2 separate regions of the Homo sapiens genome follow, and region 2 is linked to region 1. Evidence: promoter capture Hi-C in human tissues and cell types (Jung and others, 2019). All regions are on one chromosome and are shown on one strand. The core of a region is centred on a gene start or on the middle of the fragment in contact, and the rest is flanking DNA. Distances in the headings are between cores, read along the strand shown. Region 1 holds the start of USP21 (ubiquitin specific peptidase 21). Region 2 overlaps SLAMF7 (SLAM family member 7).

Evidence for each region. The method cuts DNA at HindIII sites, captures the fragments that hold promoters and counts their contacts. A contact is called where the count stands out against the background at its distance.
Region 2: a contact is called between a fragment that was not itself captured here and the fragment with the promoter of USP21 in region 1, in 1 of the 25 tissues and cell types used here (mesendoderm cells).

What each region holds. Positions count from the first base shown.
Region 1 is chr1:161,158,130-161,161,643 of GRCh38, reverse strand. USP21 (ubiquitin specific peptidase 21) reads right to left here and starts at 2,144. Exons shown (of 14, transcript NM_001014443.3): 1 at 1,966-2,144; 2 at 1,138-1,278; 3 at 404-1,024. The coding sequence starts at 1,003. It overlaps UFC1 (ubiquitin-fold modifier conjugating enzyme 1), which reads right to left. Exons shown (of 6, transcript NM_016406.4): 5 at 3,433-3,514; 6 at 2,788-3,232. The coding sequence ends at 3,152. RefSeq lists a silencer at 1,916-2,065. The HindIII fragment of the contact is 22,288 bases long and covers 1-3,514 here.
Region 2 is chr1:160,754,226-160,758,620 of GRCh38, reverse strand. SLAMF7 (SLAM family member 7) reads right to left here. Exons shown (of 7, transcript NM_021181.5): 7 at 3,800-4,395. Among named protein-coding and RNA genes, the nearest start is that of SLAMF7, 17 kb to the right of the region's middle. RefSeq lists a silencer at 1,460-1,529 and an enhancer at 3,080-3,129. The HindIII fragment of the contact is 5,235 bases long and covers 1-4,395 here.

The DNA of each region.
Region 1 (3,514 bases), core at 895-3,394:
TCAGCCTAGCTTACTTAGCTCAGAAAATGTGCAACCACGTTTGCTAAGATGTTCTGTGCCTGCCTCTCTTTAGCTCCAGAGATTAATTAGGCCTAGGCAGAGTCCCAGTAGAGAAGGTGCAAGCAAGGGAAAGGAAGGGCCTGGGGACCCAAAGAAGAATTCTAAATAGTTGGGGTAATCCCCTGGGGACCGAAATGGCACACCATGCTGAAGAGTCACCAACAACCCAAAAAAGGGTCTAGGAGGCTCAAGGGTATTTAAGCAAGGGAGAGGCATGTCCAAACTGCTGTAATGAAGGGCTGAGAAAGGAACTTCAGGGAAATGGGGGACAGAAAAGGCAGAGGATGGCAGGAAAGCACAGAGGAACATGGGCATGAAGGCCATGTGTGTGGCAAGTCCTCACCATCTTGTCATCAGAGTAGAAAGGCTCAGAGGACCGGGCGGATATCATGTGGAAGGAGCCATGGGAAGCAGGGGGCTCTGTCCGTATGCTGAACAGGGTAGGGGGTCCAGGAAAGCCCCCTAGGCGGCGGAGAGAAGTGCTACGTCTCAAAGTGGGTGGCTCAGGCCGGAGGGCCAAGCGGCTCAGTGCAGCCCCAAGCTCTCCGGTGCCACGGTGCCCTCCCAAGGCAATCCCCATTGGACGCAAGTCCCCACTGCTCACAGACTTGGAACGGGCTAAGTTGGTCCGAGATGGGAGAGGCAAAGCCACTGTTGGGGGTGGTGAGCCAGGCAGGGGAACCCCATGATCTGCTCGAAGGGGGCCTCTGGGACGAGGGCCTGAGGTCCGTCCCCGTCCCAGCTCCAGTTTCTTGAGCCGTTCATCAGGCAGACCTGGCCGGGGAGGCAGAGGTCGTAACATGGGGTTTGGCCCAGAGGCTGGGTTTCTGCGCTCCTTGCTGCGGGCCCTGGGGGCAAATGGTAGCTTGGATCCCACTCGGGGCTGGATATTAACAGGTGGCTCTCGGGTACGGCCCAGGCGGTGCTCAGAGGCCTGGGGCATTGTGGACACCACAGGCTGGACCTGGGAGGAGAAGAGAGTGTCAGCATTTGAATATGGGGGGAAATGGGAACCCAGGCTGCTGTACTGAACCCTGCCACACTAATTTTCCCTTATTGCTTTGCCCCATTCCATACCCACAATCTTGCTGTCCTCTCATTTCCACATTAGGTGGTTGGCTCAGTCATCACCACTACCACATCAACGAAAGTGGGGAGCAGTATACGCACTGAGGGCAGGAACCAGATCTATCGAATCAGCCATCGTATCCCCAGTACCTGGCATCGTGTTTGGTACAAAGTAAATACTTAGTATCTATTGGGTAAACAAATGAATGAAAGATAAGCAGCCCATGGCTTTGACCCTTTCTATACTCCCGACCCCTCCCTGCAGAACACATCTTTACTGAAAAGCCAGTGATAACTCCTATCTCGGCTCTAACGTAACATGGGACCCCATACCCGGCTAGTAAAGTAGGATGTGCCTCGGGTCACTTAAGACCCTAGCCAAATGGTAGTGTAGATGCAAGAATAACAGCCCAAAAGACAGCCCTCCATCCTCGAATCCCTGCCTCTCTGGGCTGCAAATGAAGCAGACTATATGGGTGACTTACGATCCATTCCCTCCCCCACCTCCGACCTCCGACATGGTGTCGAGGTTCAGAAAGCAGTAGTCGGGGATGGAGGACGAACAACTCCTTGACCCTTAATCTCTGCACTTCTCCCACCACAGCAGGGCTTTAGCCGGGTCCGCCCCCCTCGAGGGCAGAAAGGCCGAGACCGCTGATTGGCTACGGAATCCGGCGGCGTATTCCCCGCGGTCCAGGGATGCTGTCCCTCCAGCCCAGTTCTCCCAGGCCCCGCCGGGCCCCACGCGCCTTTGTGGAGAGTGTCCTCTCGGGTCTGGAGCAGTCTTCCCTCTGCGCCCCCCCACACCCCGCCATGCCATAACGCCCCGGCCCGTACCTGTCCCCCAGTGAGGCGGCGGGAGAGGCCAGCCAGGGCCAGGCCCCAGTTCAGGGCCACCCCCTACTACCCCCGTGCAGCCCCCCCGTGGGCCCGGCTGCAGCTTTAGCCGCAGCCGTTGCCCAGATCGCTCCCGCCGCAGGGGCCGCCGCCATCTTTGTTGGTCCCGCCCGGCCACCGGCCACCGGCTTCACCGTCTCTCAAAGCGCCTGCGCATCCACACCCGAACTCCTCCCACCGGTCCCTTGGCGCTTGCGTGAGCCCGCCCCCACGGCTCCGCGATCGACACCATGGAAACGCAGCCAAGTTTAGGGTCGCTGGTTCTCAACGCTGCCCAGAGAGGTCTTTAATCCATGACTCCAAAGCAAGTCCCTGAGGTATAGGGTGCCGTCGCCCCATCCTATAGCCCATAGGGATGGAGATCTGACAGTCGTAGTATGGCCGCGAGGCTTACAGCACAGATCCTTCCCAAACAGCAGGGGCGCAAGTATGGCAAACTGCAGGCCTGGGTCCAGCCCGCAGACCAGTGGAGAAGCATCTAGCACTTCACAGAGGGCTGGGAAGATCCCTGGAGGGCGGGAAGTGCTGGTCCGGCAAAACCACTTCTTGCAGGCTAACACGGTAGGGCAAAGCATGGCTCACCACTAAAGGACAAAGGTAGATCTGAGCAGCAGGGGGAACAGTCAACATTTCATTCCCACTCCTGACCAGAGCATCCCCTATTTCCGACTCTTTCCCAACCCAACCCGGCGTAGCTGTTCATGTGCCTCAGGTTTCAGCCCACTTGCCCTCTGTTAACAGCTCCCAATGAGAACCACAGGCTACCAGAGGAAGCAGCTTTTATTGATGGGTTATCTCCAGAAACCAGAAAGACTATATGTACTCACTTTCAGTTACCCCCGTGCCTCCAGAATCGCATGTTGCTCCACCTGGGGGCGGATATAAATTACCTCTAGATTGTCCAAAGCCCAGTCTTTCCCTTCCCTGTGCAGCCTTAGAAACTAAGTAGCAGTACTGTTTGGTGTGTGTTTGTTTCTTCCCCAGCAATGCCTACTGCAGCTACTTAGTAACAACTAGAGGTGGAGGGTGTCCGGGGAAGCAGTTAGATGAGTTAAGTGTGATGCACAGGAAAATAGTATCGTAGCCTATCAAAGGTCCCTCTGCCCTGCCTCAGTGGCTTGATTCTTCATTGGTTGCATTTCTCTTTGTGTTGGATGACGCCCTTCTGAATCAGATCAGGGATTTCCACTGCCAGCCATGGACCCAGCTGCAATACAAGGAAAATCCTGTGAGATTACTACCAGTCAATGCTTCTTGTTCCATTAGAAGCTCCTTCCTGGAGACAGATTCTGGGGGAACATGCTTAAGGGACATCACTGTTATTCCTTTTATTCTTAGCTGCTTTTCTTGTACTGCTCAGGGCCTAAGTCCCTCTTTCTCCTTTTATGCCAAATACACAAAACTTACCCCCAGAGCCATGAGATGAGCTAGTCCAAATTTGGGCACATTCCTGGCCCACAAAGGTTTGAAATGATCCGTCAGGCATATT
Region 2 (4,395 bases), core at 643-3,142, 400 kb after region 1:
CTTGGCCTTCCTAATGCGTGAGCCAATTCCTATAATAAGTCTCCTTTTATATATATTTACAAATAATCTATTGGTTCTATTTCTCAGGAAAACCATGAGTAATACAACCCCCTATATGTCTTATATGCCTTTATTTTCTTACCTACCATTTTAACTTGTAATGTCTGTTGATATCCCTGTCTCCCACTTGATTGTGAGCTCTTAGAAGTATGGGGAGCACATTGTAGACGCATAATAAGTTTTAATTGCAGGAAAAAATAACTTTTATAATTAGTAAAGACAAGCAGTACCAGCATTTATTTTAAAATAATAAATTTTAAATAAATTAATCAATTAATTAATACTGCCTAGAGCAGTAATACATATGAGCCGAACAAAACAAAACAAAACAAAACAAAACAAAACAACCCACAAAACCCAATTAGACAAAAGACAATCTTGGTCTCAACTACCTCATCTATAAAATGGTTATGTTTGTTATGAAGATTAAATAAATGTACATATGTATATACATGCACACATATATATATGTATTATTTAGAACAATGATTGGCAATTGTGACTGTACTAAACATTAAATATTATAAATGATCATGTTATGGTTTATCAACTCTTCCCTGTTGCTGGCTATGTTCTTGACAGATTGCAATAAAGAGTATGCTTAGGACTATAGTCAGAACTCCAAACATCTTTAAAGTCTGTCTACAAGTACATGAACTGAGGAGGCTGGAAGTTCCTCCTTCCATCTTCTTGGGATGAAATGAGAGGGAGGTGGGCCGGGCTGCATCCTGGGCTGCAGTCTGTGATAGGCTGTCCCCACCAGGAGGGTCTTGCTCATGGGTCTCCTCATGGAGGAGGATGATCCCCATGGGCCTGGATCCTCCTCATGGGCCTGGATATCTCTGAACATATGATGAACATTGCTTATGAAAAATTATTTGTAGGAAAATTGTGAGGCCTAAGAATGTTATTTTCTTTTAGTGATGGTCTTTGTTTGCTTCTGTAAGGTACTTGTGGGCACTCGTAAGCTTGGATCTCTTTAATCTAATACCAGTTTTGAGATTTTCTTGGCCCCATAGATGAATTAAAACTGGTGTACTTCTTGTTTACAAGAAGGATAAGTCTCCTAGGGTAAGTCTTTTGGGGTCCCAAGTCAAAAAGATGAGGGATTTACCAGTTCTCTAACCTTGGTAGCCCCAGACTCCAAACTTTGTCCTTCTAGTCCCAAGAGGCTATCAAAAGCAAAGGCCCATCTTCCCACCTCCTTTTCCAGATCAGCACACATTCCCAAGACAGTACTGAAAGCAGGAACCTCCTTATCCCTTAGATACCTCTTGAGAGCATCCTTCCCTCTCTCTGCATCCTACTATGCTTGTCCAACCTACCATCACCTCTCTCCTGGATAACGGTAAGAGCCTTCTGACTCAGTTTGCCTACATCCAGTCTTGACCCCCTACAATCTGTTTCCCATACTGCAACTAATGAAATTTTAAAAGTGCAACTCTCTCTGCTGGCCACACTGACTTTCGTTCTTTTAGGTCCTCTCACCACAAGGCCTTTGCACCTCTGGCTAGAAGGGTTTTATTTTCCCTTCCCACTTCTTGTAAGTAGCTCCTACTCATCTTCCGATCTCAGCTCAGTCTTCATCACTTTGGAGATACTGTCTCTGACCACAGGAAAATTTGCCATTCTTGGCTCCACACACCTCTCTTTCATAGCAGTCATCACTGCAACCATGTTATTTAAAGGATATTTGAGTGTTGGCCTCTGTCATTAGAATGTAAGCACCCTGAGGGCAGAGACCTCTGTTGTGGCCCACTGCTGTATTCCCTGAGTTCAGCATAATGTCCAGCACTTACTGGTGCTCAATAAGTACTGCTGAATGAATAAATGAATGAATGCATACATGATCAAATGAATGAGTGAAAGCCTTACTGAAATGGTACAGATACCTTCTTTACTTTCCACCAAGGTTTCAATGTTTACGAATTTGTTATTTGCACCTCACAAGTTGCAAACCACACAGTTCTGGAGGCTGCATGTAATGGGGCTATGAGGTGGTGTGACTTCTCACCCTGAAGAGCTGGTGGTTTCCTTTGCCTACTGGTTGAACTCATGAGGGGAAGCTTCTTTCTGCAACTAGCTTTGGGACAGAATTTATTGAGTGTCCAGAGACCAGATCTATTGGTCTCCCTAGGTCCTGTTTCAGTCACTGGTTTAAAAAACCCCAAAGTATGATTAACCCTAATTATTTATCATCTGAATGGGTTCTGAGGAGAGAGGGGAAGGCAGAACAGATGCATCCTCAGTCCCAGCATCCCCCTCTCCACGCCTCTGTCTTCACACACTGTGAAGCTCCCCTCAGCCTCCAGCAGCCCTCTCTGAGGGAAAGTCATCTTCTCCTCTGTCATTATGTGGAGGGTTTCTCCTTTCTCCCCACCCATTCTCACTCGAGGAGGTCTTTCCATCCTCCCCCACACCCTTACCATGAGGGTCTCAGACTTTCCCCTCAACCCCACGTAGTGAGTAGTGCCTCGTTTTTCTCACTGAGCACCTATTTAAAATTTCCTCTACTCTATTATGCAATACATACTTTCTCATTGAGGAATATTCAGAAAATGAATGAAAATAGGAAAAAACCAAGCCACCTAAGCTTTCACCCTCCCTAAACAACTGGTGTTACTATTTTGATGTTTTTTCTTCCAAATTTTTCCCTGTAGAGATTTTTTCTAAAACACAGCTGTAATCATATAGCACATTAAATTTGCATTCTACTTTTTATATTTGTGATGTCATAACATTTTCTAACTTGAAAACCCATAGTTGTTGTGTTGTTGTTGTTTTGTGAGTCAGAGTCTCACTCTGTTGCCCAGGCTGGAGTGCAGTAGCACAATTATAGCTCACTGCAGCCTCAACCTACCAGGCTCAAGCGACCCTCCCTCTTCAGCTCCTTCCTGAGTAGCTGGGACTACAGGCATGCACCACCATGCCTGGCTAATTTTTGTATTTTTTTGTAGAGATGGGGCTTTGCTAAGTTGCCTAGGGTGGTCTTGAACTCCTGAGGTCAAGTGATCCTCCTACTTCAGCCTCCCAAAGTGCTGGGATTACCGACATGAGCCACCACTCCTGGCCAACCCATAGTTTTTTTTAAACAATTTTTTTTTTTTTTTGAGACAGAATCTCACTCTATCATCCAGGCTGGAGTGCAGTGGTGCGATCTCGGCTCACTGCAACCTCCACCTCCCGGGTTCAAGAGATCCTCCTGCCTCAGCCTCCCAAGTAGCTGGGACCACAGGCACATGCTAAAAATTTGTTATTTTTAATTTTATTTTTGATTCAGAAGCTACATGTGTAGGTTACACAGGTATATTTCATGATGCTGAGTATAACCCATAATTCTTTTTTTGAGATGGAGTCTTGCTCTGTCGCCTAGGCTGGAGTGCAGTGGCGCGATCTTGGCTCACTGCAACCTCCCCGTCCTGGGTTCAAGCAATTCTCCTCCCTCTGCCTCCCAAGAAGCTGGGATTACAGGGGCTCACCACCATGCCCGGCTAATATTTTTTGTATTTTTAGTAGAGACGGGGTTTCATCATGTTGGCCAGGCTGTTCTTGAACTCCTGACCTCAAGTAATCCACCTGCCTCGGCCTCCCAAAGTGCTGGGATTACAGGCGTGAGCCACTGCTCCCGGCCTAACCCATAATTCTTAATGTCTATGTATGAACAGACCTTCACCTGTGGTGGTCAGTTTCTTTGGCAGTTTCCAGAATTTCACTATTGCAAATAGCAAAATAATGCATCTTTTTGTATGTGAATCTCACAATATCTGTTTTATTAAGATAGTAAAGAAGACTTTTTTACTACAATAGGGTTTTGCAGTAGGGAGAGAGATCTGGCTCAATTCCTTCACAATGCCTTTCTGAGAGAAGATAATCCTCAATCCCATTCTTGCCCAACAAGCATTTGTTATTAAGTTTTTCAACACTTTCATCACTTGGTAGGGAGGTCTCCATTCAAGATATGTGTCAGGGAACATATCAAAAGCAGCCATTCCCCTTTCCCCTTCCCCATGTTTTTCACTTAAGTATAAGAGATGGTGAGCTCTGTATTGGTAGGGATGTTCATCTTACGTGCCAGACTGACCTAGCACAGGTGTTTGTTTGTTTGTTTGTATTGGAGTTTTGCTCTCGTTGCCTAGGCCGGAGTGCAGTGGTGCCATCTCAGCTCACTGCAACCTCCACCTCCCAGGTTCAAGCGATTCTCATGCCTTGGCCTCTCGAGTAGCTGGGATTACAGGTGCACACCACCACGCTCAGCAAATTTTTGTATCTTTAGTAGAGATGGGGTTTCACCATGTTGGCCAGGCTGGTCTTGAACTCCTGACCTCAGATGACCCA